5 separate regions of the Homo sapiens genome follow, and regions 1, 2, 3 and 5 are each linked to region 4. The links are contacts of gene promoters, found by promoter capture Hi-C in blood cells and fetal thymus (Javierre and others, 2016). All regions are on one chromosome and are shown on one strand. The core of a region is centred on a gene start or on the middle of the fragment in contact, and the rest is flanking DNA. Distances in the headings are between cores, read along the strand shown.

Region 1 (2,700 bases), core at 179-2,678, 2.8 Mb after region 4:
ATAAAGTATTTTTCTACAGGTAACTGTATTGTTACTTGGCGATTATAGATAGATGGGCTTGGATTTTAACCTTAACTGACTAGTTTGTTACTTTTCCCTTCCACTGCCATCCCTCACCCCCTACATGCCCTCCAAGATTTCTGTCATGATTCTGGTCATTAGTTTGTAATTATGGAAAGTGACTAAGTACAACCACTAAGTTTTGTCTTTCCTTTTGAGCACATACATGTGTTTCTCTTTTGGGGACTGGTGGGCCAACACTGGCTTTTCATTCTTAATATGATAAAAGTTGGTGTGACTTCTTTATCTAGGCAGTTACTTTGCATTGAAACCAACTTAACATCTGTTCATTTTTGCTATTAGGGTTTGAATCAAGGAAAGAGAATTCATGAGATGGTTGAGAGGATTCATGAGATAGATGAGCTTGGTAGAATAAATAGGCCGTATGTGGATATAGCCAGGGTGACCCACAAGTAGTAGTAGAAGGAGGGTTAAAAAAAGTTAGATGTATGTTGGGAGAAGGTTTAATCTTGTAAGAGTCAAGGACAGTTTAAAGATAGGAACTAGAAAAGAAGTAGGAAACTAGCATAAAAATATGAGATGAATTGGGTCAGTATAGGTGAGAATGATGGGACTGAGAAGTAATGATACTTGGTGGCAAGGTTTTTGAATTATTAGGCATAGACCGAACTAGAAGAAGCAGAAATTTGGTTCGAAAATTGGGAAGGGAGAGATAAATGACAATGCATTGATCTTTAAAAAGCTTATACTAAGTCATATGGGGGTAAGGAGATTCATCAGAAACCATCAGCCTTGTTTCTCCTATTTAAAAAAAAAAAAATCTGGGCCTAAGATTGGATCATTATGGGGGAAAGGAAGAGCATTAGAATTAACAAATAGCAAGGAATCATGGAAGCGACAAAATACTCCATGGAATAAGGAGCAGGCTATAAACTATTTGCAACGTAAACTTCTGGTTAGTAGAAACTTTCAGCGTGGTGGCTCATGCCTATAATCCCAGCACTTTGGGAGGCTGAGGCGACGGCTCACCTCTGAAGTCGAGAGTCCGAGACCAGTCTGACTAACGTGGCGAAAACCTGTCTCTACTAAAAATACAAAATTAGCCGAGTGTGGTGGCGCAGGCCTGTAATCCCAGCTATTCGGGAGGCTGAGGCAGGAGAATCGCTTGAACCCAGGAGGTAGAGGTTGCGGTGAGCCGAGATCGCGCCATTGCACTCCAGCCTGGGCGACAAGAGTGAAACTCTGTCTCAGAAAAAAAAAAAAAAAAAAAAAGAAACTTTCACTGTTGTTTTTATATTACTCCTAGCTGTAGATACTTTAACTTCTGACGGTGAGTAGAGAATGAAAAATAATTGGTGCCAAAGTAGGTATACTGGAAAAAAGCTGATGATAATGGGAAGGAAATTTATTAATATCAAGTTATTGAGTAGGTTTTCGTTAAATCAGGAAGCATTCATAACTTTCCTGATTGCCATTTTGAGTAATTTGGAGGCAAATATTAGATATGAGAGGCTGGAATGAGCTGGTGGAATAGGCTAGCCAGGAATGGGAGATGGTATGGATCTTGGGTTGAGATATGAAAAGTATGCAATTACTGAAGCAAGGACGATCTTGTTTAACATTGTTGGAGATACCATGTATACTTTGTAATTTTGACTCACGTGTTTGTTCTCTTTGTCTGTTTTGGAGTATCTGATATATTAACCCATATTATATTGTTTTATAAGGATAAGTGAGATGGGTTGGGAAGGAAAAAACATAGCATGGGGGTTATATGGAAAAGTCTCCTTCAGTCAGGACTGTGCCTCTGACAAATTTCTTATCTGGTGTCTTCCAAAAGTTAGGAGAAATGGTCTTACCAAGCAAGACTTTCCTGTATTGTCAAATACTGTCATCATATACAAAGAACAGATATTTCTTTTTCATATATTTGGGTTTTATGGTGATATACTTCCCTGTCTTTGATAGCTTTTCTTTTTTCCACTAGTTTCATGAACTTAAAACCCTAGACATGGATTTTGTGAACCTACTTTCAGCCATTCATAAGACATGTTTTCAAGATAGGAAGCTTTTTACCATCTCATGTTAGAATCAAAGGATACCATTTAGTTTCTGTGAGGATCGAATGGTTTACTCCAGATAATGCGAGCAAGTATAATTCATTAACTGTTTTTTGATTAGCTACTATATGTGCTATGTCCTGCTGGTTCTTAGGGGATCCACAGATAAATAAAACATAGTCCCCACCATCCAAGAACTTTCTCCCAGAGAAAGAGGAGCTGGGCCATGGTACAGAGTTGTGGAGGGTGTACATTGCATACATTCATAACAAATTTTTATATATTTAGTATGGCAGTTTTCCAGGCATCTTGAGAAGTGGGCAACTTTTTACAATTTGCGCAAAGGAACCATTTGGGCCTTCAGAGGATATATTACAGACTTAGGTCATTATAATAAAATATTAAATATAAGTGTTTTAAGGTATAAACAATGGTGTGGGTATTTAAAGGAGGTGGAGGGATCAAGTCATCACAAGTTGCTCAGTTGTTAAAGCGTCAGAGGTTCAGGGCTCACTTAATGGAGTAGAAGACCTTTGAGGGTTGGTAGGATTTTAGCTGCGAGAGATTATTGGCATTGGGATGGAGAGGACGTGTTCCAGGCAGAAAGCACAGCATCATA
Region 2 (2,724 bases), core at 2-2,501, 2.8 Mb after region 4:
TTGCCCTGTCACCCAGGCTGGAGGGCAGTGCCACAATCTCAGCTCACGGCAAGCTCTGCATCCCCGGTTCAAGTGATTCTCTTGCCTCAGCCTCCCAAGTAGCTGGGACCACTGGCGCATGCTACCATACCCAGCTAATTTTTGTATTTTTAATAGAAAGAAGGTTTTGCCATGTTGGCCAGACTGTTCTCAAACTCCCGACCTCAGGTGATCCACCTGCCTAAGCCTCCCGAAGTACTGGGATTACAGGCATGAGCCACTGTGCCTGGCCAATAGTTGTAATTTTTTTTTTTTTTTCCTGAGACGGAGTCTTGCTCTGTTGCCCAGGCTGGAGTGCAATGGACTGATCTCAGCTCACTGCAACCTTTACCTCCCAAGTTCAAGTGATTCTCCTGCCTCAGCCTCCCGAGTAGCTGGGATTACAGGTGTGTGCAACCATGCCCAGCTAATTTCTGTATTTTTAGTAGAGACGGGGTTTCACCATGTTGGTCAGGCTGGTCTCGAACTACTGACCTTGTGATCCACCCGCCTCAGCCTCCCAAAGTGTTGGGATTACAGGCGTGAGCCACAGCGCCTGGTCAATAGTTGTATTTTTAAAGCATACATAAATCATTGTTTTAAATGACATAGAGTCATTTAAAATGGATTAGCACTTGTATATACTTGCCTTATCTAATTATTCCCCCATTTGATCTTCTATAGAAATCTTTATACACATACAGTCATCCCTTGGTATCTGTGAGGGATTGGTTCCAGGACCCCTGCAGATACCAAAATCCATGGATGCTCGAGTCCTTTATATATAAAATGGTGTAGAGCCAGGTGCGGTGGCTCTTACCTGTAATCCCAGCACTTTGGGAGGCTGAGGCAAGAGGATCACTTGTGCCCAGGAGTTCAAGACCAGCCTGGGGACCCCAGTGGGACCTTATCTCTACAAAAAATTAGCTGGGCGTGGTAGTGCAGTCCTCTAGTATCAGCTATGTGGAAGCTGAGGCAGGAGGATCACTTGAGCCCAGAGGCTGAGACTACAGTGACCCATGATCATGCCACTGCACTCCAGCCTGGGCAATAGAGTGTGAGACCCTGCCTCAAAAAATAAATAAATAAATAAATAAAATCATGTAGTATTTCCATGTAACCGACACACTTCCTCTGATACACTTTAATCTCTTGATTACTTATAATACCTAACACAATATAAATACTATGTAAATAGTTGTTACACGGTATTGTTTTAAAATCTGTAGTATTTTCTCTTGTTATTTTTTAGTTTCTTGTTGTTTTCAAATATTTTCAATCCACAGATGGTTGAATCCATGGATATGGAAGGCTGACTATGTGCATACACATATATTTATGTGTCTATATAACCACATGGAATATCTTTTAACAAAATTAATTTTAAAGTAAACTATCAATATTTTGCATTTAACAAGTTTGAAACATAAAATATATGTAGATTTATGAGGCTTATTTTTATATTAATGGAAGTGTTACCATGGGAGAATGTTTCAGTTTTCCCTGTTAGCCTCGATGAGAACAAGAGTGCAATAAACAGAATGGTTGATATGGGAAAGGCTGGTGGCTAGAAGGCTAATGCCATCTCTGTCTTTAATTTAACATTATAGAGCAGCCTGTAAGAAGGGCTTTTCCTTCACTGTTACCTATTTTTACCTCAAGTACTTCTGCTACTCCCTTATAGTCAACTGAAACTCTTAAGAAATATCATAGAAAATCACAGAAAATCCTAATATGACTAGTACAGAATTCTTTTTTTTTTTTTTTTTTTTGCTTGAGACAGAGTCTCGTTCTGTAACCCAGGCTGGAGTGCAGTGGCATGATCTCAGCTCACTGCAACCTCCGCCTCCTGGGTTCAAGTGATTCTCCTGCCTCAGCCTCCTGAGTAACTGGGATTGCAGCCATGCACGACCACACCCAGCTTTTTTTTTTTTTTTTTTTTTGATACAGAGTTTCACTCTTGTTGTCCAGGCTGGATGGAGTACAATGCCGTGATCTCTGCTCACCGCGATCTCCGCCTCCTGGGTTCAAGCGATTTTTCTGCCTCAGCCTCCCCAGTAGCTGGGATTACAGGCATGCGGCACCACGCCCAGCTAATTTGTTGTACTTTTAGTAGAGATGGGGTTTCTCCATGTTGGTCAGGCTGGTCTCGAACTCCCAACCTCAGGTGATCCGCCTGCCCTCAGCCTCCCAAAGTGCTGGGATTACAGGCGTGAGCCACCACGCCTGGCTGACTCCCGGCTAATTTTGGTATTTTTAGTAGGGACAGAGTTTCGCTATGTTGGCCAGGGTGGTCTTGAACTCCTAACCTCAAGTGATCCACCTGCCTCAGCCTCCCAAAGTGCTGGGATTACAGGCATGAGCCACCACGCCTGGCCCAGAATTCTTAATATAGAATTGACAGTGAATCTAGCACTACGTTATTCTTGGGACCTGCAGGAATAACTTCTATCTTCAATGAACTTAATCAGAATTTTTAGTCAGAACATCTAGAAGAAGCCATTTAAAATTCAGATATGTAAGTTTTTTATCAATGTGGAACAAAAATTATTTTATTAAATTTAGTGAGGAGTTTCTGACAGTTTTTTGGTGTTCTAGACATGTAGAAATCTTTATCTGATCTGTCTTGAATTTACCCTGCTTTGATGTGCTAATAGAGGATATTATTGTAAATGTCAATTCACATAGTAAGAACAAGTGAACAAC
Region 3 (2,700 bases), core at 175-2,674, 2.7 Mb after region 4:
ATTCTATCAATCTAACACATAGCATAGTAAATATAAACTGATTCAGATCAAATTCAATAGGTACCAACATTTTTTTTTTTCATAATTGAACAATGCATTCTTTAAATAGAGTTCCTAAAGGTTCCTTTTCTTTTTTTTTGAGATGGGGTCTTGCCCTGTCACCCAAGCTGATCTGGAACTCCTGGGCTCAAGCAAGCCTCCAGCCCCAGCCTCCCGAGTAGCTGGGACTACAGGTATGTGCCACCACACCCAGCTAATTTTTAAAATTTTTTGTGGAGACGAGCTCTCCCTGTGTTGCCCAGGCTAGTCTCGAACTCCTGGACTCAAGTAATCCTACTGCCTCGGCCTCCAAAGTGTTGGGCTTACAGACCTCAAGGTTCCTCTAGATCCTGAAATGTTCTTCTATTATGACCATTTCTGTCTTTTTTTTTTTTTCTTTTTTTTGAGACAGAGTCTCGCTCCGTGGCCCAGGCTGGAGTGCAGTGGCGCGATCTTGGCTCACTACAACCTCCACCTCCCGGGTTCAAGCAGTTCTCCTGCCTCAGCCTCCAGAGTAGCTAGGACTACAGGTGTGTGCCACCACGCCCAGCTAATTTTTGTGTTTTTTAATAGAGACGGGGTTTCACCATGTTGGCCTCGATCTCTTGACCTCGTGATCCACCCGCCTCAGCCTCCCAAAGTGCTGGGATTACAGGCATGGGCCACCGCACCTGGCAGTTTTTTTTTTTTTTGAGATAGAGTCTCCTTTGTCACCCATGATAAAATGCAGTGGCGTGATATTGCTCACTGCAACCTCCGCCTCCTGGGTTCAAGTGATTCTCCCACCTCAGGTTCCCAAGTAACTACAGGTGCACACCACCATGCCAGGCTAATTTTTATTATTATTTTATTTTTGAGACAGAGTTTCACTCTTGTTGCCCAGGCTGGAGTGCAATGGCGTGATCTCAGCTCACCGCAACCTCCGCCTCCCAGGTTCAAGTGATTCTCCTGCCTCAGCCTCCCTAGTAGCTGGGATTACAGACATGTGCCACCATGCCCGGCTAATTTTGTATTTTTAGTAGAGACGGGGTTTCTCCATGTTGGTCAGGCTGGTCTTGAACTCCCGACCTCAGGTGATCCGCCCTCCTTGGCCTCCCAAAGTGCTGAGATCACAGGCGTGAGCCACCACGCCTGGCCATGACGCCAGGCTAATTTTTGCATTTTTTGTAGAGATTGGGTCTGGCCATATTGCCCAGACTGGTCTTGAACCCCTGGGCTCAAGCCATCACCCTGCCTTGACCTCCCAAACTGTTGGGATTACAGGCATGAGCCACAGCGCCCAGCCTCTAATTCTGGTTTAATGAAGACATTAGGCTGGGAGCAGTGGCTCACGCCTGTAATCCCAGCACTTCGGGAGGCCCAGGTGGGCGGATCACACGAGGCCAGGAGTTCGAGACCAGCCTGGCCAACACAGTGAAACCCGTCTCTACCAAAAGAACAAAAAATTAGTCAGGCATGGTGGCACACACCTATAATCCTAGCTACTCGAGAGGCTGAGGCACGAGGATCACTTGAACTCAGGAGTCAGAGGTCACAGTGAGTCAAGACTGCACCACTGCAATCCTGCCTGGGCGACAGACCAAGACCATGTCTAAAAAAAAAGAAAAAGAAAGAAAATAAAGGCCGGGTGCCGTGGCTCATGCCTATAATCTCAGCACTTTGGGAGGCCGAGGTGGGTGGACCACCTGAGGTCAAGAGTTCGAGACCAGCCTGGCCAACATGGCGAAAATCCATCTCTACTAAAAATACAAAAATTAGCCAGGTGTGGTGGCAGGTGCCTGTAATGCCATCTACATCAGGAGGCTGAGGCAGGAGAATCACTTGAATCCAGGAGGCAGAGGCTGCAGTGAGCCGAGATTGTGCCACTGCACTCCAGCCCGGGTGACAGAGCAAGACTCTGTCTCAAAAAAAAAAAAAAAAAAAAAAAAAAAAAAAAAAAAAGACATTGCTAGAAAGAAAATTTCCAGCTAGCAGAAACTAGGGAGAAAAAAGTGTGCCTGTGAAATGCCCAATCTCTGAATCACATTTGTAAAAGTTTCCTAAAAGACAAAAAGATATATGTACAGTTTCCCTTCTCCTTACTATTTTACTTGGTATGGTAAAAAATCTGGTCGTTGTCTGAGATATAAGTAGCACACGGAGCATAAGAACACACAGTTCTCAGCTGGTAGTGGTGGCTCACACCTGTAATCCCAGTACTTTGGGAAGCCAAGGTGGGTGGATCACTTGAAAAGTCGGGAGTTCGGGACCAGCCTGGCCAACATGGAAAACCCCATCTCTACTAAAAATACAAAAATTAGCTGGGTGTGGTGGTGTGCGTCTGTAATCCCAGCTACCCAGGTGGCTGAGGCACGAGAATCGCTTGAACCCAGGAGTTGAAGGCTGCAGTGAGCCAAGATCACATCACTGCACTCCAGCCTGGATGACAGAGCAAGACTCTGTCTCACACGCGCACACACACACACACAAATAACAAAAAATACCACGCAGTTCTTGATGGGAAAAACTGAAACTTTCCCCAAGAACTGAACTTTTCTCAGTAGTACACAAATCATGTATTTATGTATGTTGTTTTGTTGTTGTTTTTTTTAATTCTGAGACAGGGTCTTACCCTGTCGCCCAGGCTGAGTGCATGGCTCCATCACCACTCACTGCAGCCTT
Region 4 (2,755 bases), core at 227-2,726:
TCTACCAAAAAAAAAAAAAAAATTGTAGTGGCGTGCACCTGTAGTCCCAGCTACTTGGGAGGCTGAGGTGGGAGGATCACTTGAGCCCAGGAGGTCGTGACCACAGTGAGCCGTGATTGGGTCGCTGCACTCCAGTCTGGGCAACAGAGCTAGACCCTGTCTCAAAACAAAAGCTAAAACATTGGCCCAGCACCAATTGTGTCAAATAGGAAGGCAATGGAGTTAAACAGAGGCTGAGGATGCCTGTCCATCCCGGAAAAACAGCAAGTTGATTTCCCTGGTTATACTTACTAACTTTGCTTAATAAGTTAACGTAGCCCTGGCCCTTCACTTTGCTAATCCCATCTTTTACACCGTTTTGCAGGACAAGTGAGATAGAAGGGGCCAACCAGCTACTGGAGCTCTTTGACCTCTTCAGGTACTTTGTTCATCGGGAAATCTATCCAGGCAGCAAGATCACACACTTTGAGAGGTATGCGGAGATAAGGGAGGAGCAGGGTGAGAAAGTATCAGAGAGGCCTGGGAAACCAAGATACTAGCTTGGTTACTCCTGCCCTGTCTTGAATAGGTTGCAGCAGAAGACTGGAATTCCTTTCTCCCAGATGATCTTCTTTGATGATGAGAGGCGGAATATTGTAGACGTCAGCAAACTGGGTACTGAGTGATGAGGAACAGCCATTTGGGGTCCCTAGGAGGGATTAGGTAGATACATACAGGTTGGATAGTTTGCCCTATAGGTGGCACTCACAAAGGTCAGAGTAATAATGGAGAACCCTGAAAGCTTAATGAAATGTGACTTCTTATCTTTCTAGGTGTTACCTGCATTCACATCCAGAATGGAATGAATCTTCAAACTCTAAGTCAAGGGTTAGAGACATTTGCGAAGGCCCAAACTGGGCCTTTGAGGTCCAGCCTTGAGGAGAGCCCATTTGAGGCCTAAACTGAAAGGAAATCAAGAAGGCATTTTCAGGTGCATTTGTAATTTATTAAAGTTCATCTGTGTGTGACAGAAGAGATTTTACCCACAGTGTGGGGAGTTTCTATTTTTCTAGCCTGTGAAATGGGGTTGGTTGTCCTGAGGTGCAGAGACCAGAATGTGAGACATTAGACTGCATCAGGTTTGCCATCTAAACTTAGGGCAACCCCAAGTGCTTGAACCTATACCACCCCACTTTCCTGAGCTCTGTAAAGAGCATGAAGTTTTCCCACTGACCCCATACACTGAGGTGCCATCACACTGCACATTTCCTTCCGGAGAACAAGCACGTACTCAGGTGGAGATAGAACTGTCTTTTTACTTAATAGAAAATGATGTGGCAGCTTTAAGAGGAGCGCGTCGGTCTGGGGCTGGTGGCTTGGGTCACGTGACACCGGTGGTCTCGTTTGCGCCTCTTGATGTCGCGGCGGCGCCCTGAGGACGGATTGGGCAAGGCTGGTCCCTGTGTGATGAGACATCACCCTCCCAGGAGCAAGGCGGAAGTCTGGAGGACGCTGAGGGGCGGAGGCGGGAGAGGCGAGCTCGCGATGAGTGGTCTCGGCAGGCTCTTCGGGAAGGGTGAGCCAGGGTGGGACTGGCCAGCCAGGAGGCGCTGGCTGGTGCAGGGGAAGAGGAGACCCCGGCGAGATTCGGCCGGACCGCTGCGCCGGGCAGGGGAAGAGAATCAGGAGACAGGCTGACTGGAAAACCCCGGCGGCCGATGGCGGAGCAAGGCTCATCGCCGGTGCCAAAAGGCACACCATGTCGGGGCGCCTTGTTCCCGTCCGCCGTCCTCCCCCACTCTCAGAGGGAAGAACTCAAGATCTGGGAGGGGACTTGAGTTGAGGGCGTGGCGATCGTGCTGACTCCCACTGTTCAGGCTTGAAGACGAGTTTCCTGCTGTCTTCAGCCATTTTCAAAACCTTGTTCTATAATACTTTGTGCTGGGCAAGAGGGATCTAAGGTGAAGAAGAAAGACTGCCTTCTTAGCCCGGCGCGGGGGCTCACGCCTGTACTCGCAACACTTTGGGAGGCCGACGTGGGTGGATCATGAGGTCAGGAGTTTGAGATCAGCCTGGCCAATATGGTGAAACCCCGTCTCTACTAAAAATATAAAAATTGGCCGGGCGCGGTGGCTCACGCCTGTAATCCCAGCACTTTGGGAGGCCGAGGTGGGTGGATCACCTGAGGTCAAGAGTTCGAGACCAGCCTGGACAACATGGTGAAACCTTGTCTCTACTAAAAATACAAAAAAAAAAAAAAAATTAGCTGGTTGTGGTGGCACGCGCCTGTAGTCCCAGCTACTGGGGGAGGCTGAGACAGGTGAATCGCTTGAACCCAGGAGGCGGAGGTTGTAGTGAGCCAAGATTGCACCAATGCACTCCAGCCTTGGTGACAGAGGGAGACTCCATTCTCAAAAAAAAAAAAAAAAATTAGGTGGGCATGATGGTGTGTGCCTGTAGTCCCAGCTACTCAGGGAGGCTGAGGCAGGAGAATCACTTGAACCCGGGAGACGGAGGTTGCAATGAGCTGAGATCATGCCACTGCACTCTGGCCTGGGCAACAGAGCGAGACTCTGTCTCAAAAAAAGAAGTCCTGGCGCGGTGGCTCATGCCTGTAATCAAAACACTTTGGGAGGCCGAGGCGGGCAGATCACCTGAGGTTGGGAGTTCGACACCAGCCTGACCAACATGGAGAAAGCCTGTCTGTACTAAAAACACAAAAAATTAGCCAGGCATGGTGGCACATGCCTGTGATCCCAGCTATTTGGGAGGCTGA
Region 5 (2,700 bases), core at 171-2,670, 2.7 Mb after region 4:
GTGGTGGCTCAAGCCCGTAATCCTAGCACTTTGGGAGGCCGAGGTGGGTAGATTAGAAAGTCAGGAGTTCAAGACCAGCCTGGCCAATATGGTGAAACCCCGTCTGTACTGAAAAAATACAAAAAGTAGCCAGGCGTGGTGGCACGCACCTCTAGTCCCAGCTATTTGGGAGCTTGAGGCAGGAGAATTGCTTGAACTCGGGAGGCGGAGGTTGCAGTGAGCTGAGATAGTGCCACTGCACTCCAGCCAGGGCGACAGAGTGAGACTTTGTCTCAAAAAAAAAAAAATTATTTCATTCTTAAATAGCAACAGTTACTTACTAAAGACCTCTATGTGTCTGTTGGGCACTGCATAGCTTCTCAAACCTTGGAATCACGATTGCACACTGCTACTCTCATTTCCCATTTCATATTGATTTTTGTGTAGTGCTTGCTTTTTTATAACAGCAACTGCCAGAAACAGCTTCTCAGAGATATGAAGATATTGAACGAATTTTATCATGGTCTGATATTGACATTGCAACTGTCTTAAGCTTGTAATTCATGTAGTAAGTATCCTTGTGTTGAGTGTTACTGTGTTTTTCTCAAAAGTTTGAGGTATCCCATGGCACCCTTGTGAGTTTGTAGTAGTGCCCAGAGTGTACTATTTGAGAACTGTGGCCACAGGCTAATTGGTTTTTTGTTTGTTTGTTTGTTTTCATTTGTTTGTTATGAGATGGAGTTTCACTCTTGTCACCCAGGCTAGAGCACAATGGCATGATCTCGTCTTACTGCAACCTCCACCTCCTGGGTTCAAGCGATTCTCCTGCCTCAGTCTCCCGAGTAGCTGGGATTACAGGCATGTGCCACCAAGCCCAGTTAATTTTTTTGTATTTTTAGTATAGACGGGGTTTCTCCATGTTGATCAGGCTGGTCTTGAACTCCTGACCTCAGGCGATCCGCCTGCCTCGGCCTCCCAAAGTGCTGGGATTACAGGCGTGAGCCACCACACCCATCCTGCTAATTATTTTTAGTGTATCAGTCAATGTATTGAAAACGACTGTGCCAGATTCTGAGTTTGCAAGGTGGAAAAAAGTCGTCCCCCTGCTCTTGTGCAGCTTACAGTCTAGTGGGGGCATAGATGTTAAATATAAAATTATTTGTATCAAATTGTAAATTGTGATAAATGCAATGGAGGAAAAAGGGTGCTACGAAAGAATAACAGGGTACCTACTTTTGATTAGGAGTGATATTAAGCTGGGATCTGAAGGATGGGCAAGAGCCTGCTGGGCAAAGATTTTTTTAAAAGGGTATTACTTGGGGGGAACAAACTATACAAACACCTTGAACTTGGAAGAAGCTTGACACGTTTATTGAAAGAAACCTAGTGTGATTGGACTAAATCAAGAGGGAATAGTGCAAGATGAGGTTGGAAAAGTAGGTAGGGACCAGATTTTATAGCACCTTAGAGGCCTGAGTAAGGGTTTTGGATTTTATTCTAAATACATGGAAATTGAAGCTTGGGAGATGGGGGATTAAAAATAATAATAAATAAATACACCTGAAGCATTTTAAAGTTTTAAGTAGAGAAGTGGCTTGATCAGATTTTAAAAGATCACTCTGGAGGAGAACAAGGACTGAAGTAGTATCCCAGTTGCAATAGTCCACATGAGAAAGAATGGTAGCTTGGTCTAGGAAGTGACCCTGGAAAGAGAAAGAAAGGATAATTTTAAGGTACATATTGGAAGTACTTCACTTTGGAATGGATTAGATATTTGGAGTAGGGAGCAAAGGGTATCAATAATAACACTTTGGTTTTTGGCTTATGCCATTTACTGAGATACAGAAGCCTGCAGCAAACACAGGCTAGGGGAAAAGAAGTTCCATTTTGATGTGTTAAGTTTGAAGTCCGTTTTATGTATCAGTGTGGAAATGAAGAATTCACAAATGTACAAATCTGGTGCTTAGTCAAGCATCTGGGCTAGAGGTACAAATTTGGGAGGGTTGACATTTAGATCTTCCCTGGTCTTCACACAGCTGATGGTATAATAAATTAAAATATTGTAGATTTGTTGTTCTTTAATGGTCTTACACTTTTTTTCCAAGGAGTTGGAAAACTGGAAACCTCCCAAATGAAAATTTTCAAATTGAAAAATACGAATCACAAACAGCCCAACCTTGCCTTATTCTTCAGTTTGTTTTTTTGGTTTTGTTTTTTTTTTGCGACAAGGTCTCGTGCTGTTGCCCAGGCTGGAGTACAGTAACGTGCTCAGCTCACGGCAACCTGTTTCCAGGGCTCAAGAGATCCTCTCACCTCAGCCTCTCACGTAGCTGGGACTACAGGCATGTGTCACCACGCTCTGCTGATTTTTAAATTTTTGTAGAGACAGGGTCTCACTGTATTGTGCAGGCTGTTCTTAAACTCCTGGGCTCAAGTAATCCTCCTGCCTCAGCCTCCCACAGTGCTGGGATTATAGGCATGAGCCACCACGCCCAGCTCTGCAGCCTTTTATCCTGTTTTTCATAAGGTCTTTTGTTGCCATTTTTATTCCCTTTTTCAGTCCTTAGCTCTTATCTTTTTTTTCACCTAATTTTATCCATATCACTGTCTCTGAATTCCCTGGTGGCAAGCTGCTTTTATATGCACTAGTAACGAAACCAGTGAGACTTAAGACAACTGTGTTTTCCTTATTCCTGGCTCATTCTCTTCTTGTGGCTTGAT

Evidence for each region. Contacts are between HindIII fragments. The CHiCAGO score rates a contact against its expected background, and 5 or more counts as called.
Region 1: a contact is called between a fragment that was not itself captured here and the fragment with the promoter of CHMP4A in region 4, in 1 of 17 cell types (non-activated CD4 T cells). The highest score is 6.0, in non-activated CD4 T cells.
Region 2: a fragment that was not itself captured here is called in contact with the fragment with the promoter of CHMP4A in region 4 in 1 of 17 cell types (non-activated CD4 T cells); the score reaches 7.9 in non-activated CD4 T cells.
Region 3: a contact is called between a fragment that was not itself captured here and the fragment with the promoter of CHMP4A in region 4, in 1 of 17 cell types (naive CD8 T cells). The highest score is 6.1, in naive CD8 T cells.
Region 5: a fragment that was not itself captured here is called in contact with the fragment with the promoter of CHMP4A in region 4 in 1 of 17 cell types (activated CD4 T cells); the score reaches 6.4 in activated CD4 T cells.

The regions. Positions count from the first base shown.
Region 1 is chr14:21,432,633-21,435,332 of GRCh38, reverse strand. The region is part of intron 1 of CHD8 (chromodomain helicase DNA binding protein 8); the gene reads left to right. Among named protein-coding and RNA genes, the nearest start is that of CHD8, 22 kb to the left of the region's middle. The HindIII fragment of the contact is 1,326 bases long and covers 766-2,091 here.
Region 2 is chr14:21,386,876-21,389,599 of GRCh38, reverse strand. All of the region lies in intron 37 of CHD8 (chromodomain helicase DNA binding protein 8), which reads left to right. The region is part of intron 1 of LOC107984643 (a long non-coding RNA gene); the gene reads right to left. Among named protein-coding and RNA genes, the nearest start is that of SNORD9, 4.0 kb to the left of the region's middle. The HindIII fragment of the contact is 7,320 bases long and covers 1-2,724 here.
Region 3 is chr14:21,483,610-21,486,309 of GRCh38, reverse strand. All of the region lies in intron 2 of TOX4 (TOX high mobility group box family member 4), which reads right to left. Among named protein-coding and RNA genes, the nearest start is that of TOX4, 7.8 kb to the right of the region's middle. The HindIII fragment of the contact is 3,821 bases long and covers 1-2,700 here.
Region 4 is chr14:24,212,209-24,214,963 of GRCh38, reverse strand. It overlaps CHMP4A (charged multivesicular body protein 4A), which reads left to right and starts at 1,476. Exons shown (of 6, transcript NM_014169.5): 1 at 1,476-1,555. The coding sequence starts at 1,525. It overlaps NEDD8-MDP1 (NEDD8-MDP1 readthrough), which reads left to right. Exons shown (of 7, transcript NM_001199823.3): 5 at 365-472; 6 at 569-654; 7 at 813-1,021. The coding sequence ends at 940. It overlaps MDP1 (magnesium dependent phosphatase 1), which reads left to right. Exons shown (of 6, transcript NM_138476.4): 4 at 365-472; 5 at 569-654; 6 at 813-1,021. The coding sequence ends at 940. RefSeq lists enhancers at 1-172, 1,327-1,621, 1,258-1,757, 1,185-1,993, 1,948-2,067. The HindIII fragment of the contact is 5,751 bases long and covers 784-2,755 here.
Region 5 is chr14:21,464,499-21,467,198 of GRCh38, reverse strand. The region is part of intron 5 of RAB2B (RAB2B, member RAS oncogene family); the gene reads left to right. It overlaps LOC124903283 (a long non-coding RNA gene), which reads right to left. Exons shown (of 2, transcript XR_007064064.1): 2 at 1,329-1,682. Among named protein-coding and RNA genes, the nearest start is that of CHD8, 9.7 kb to the right of the region's middle. The HindIII fragment of the contact is 159 bases long and covers 1,341-1,499 here.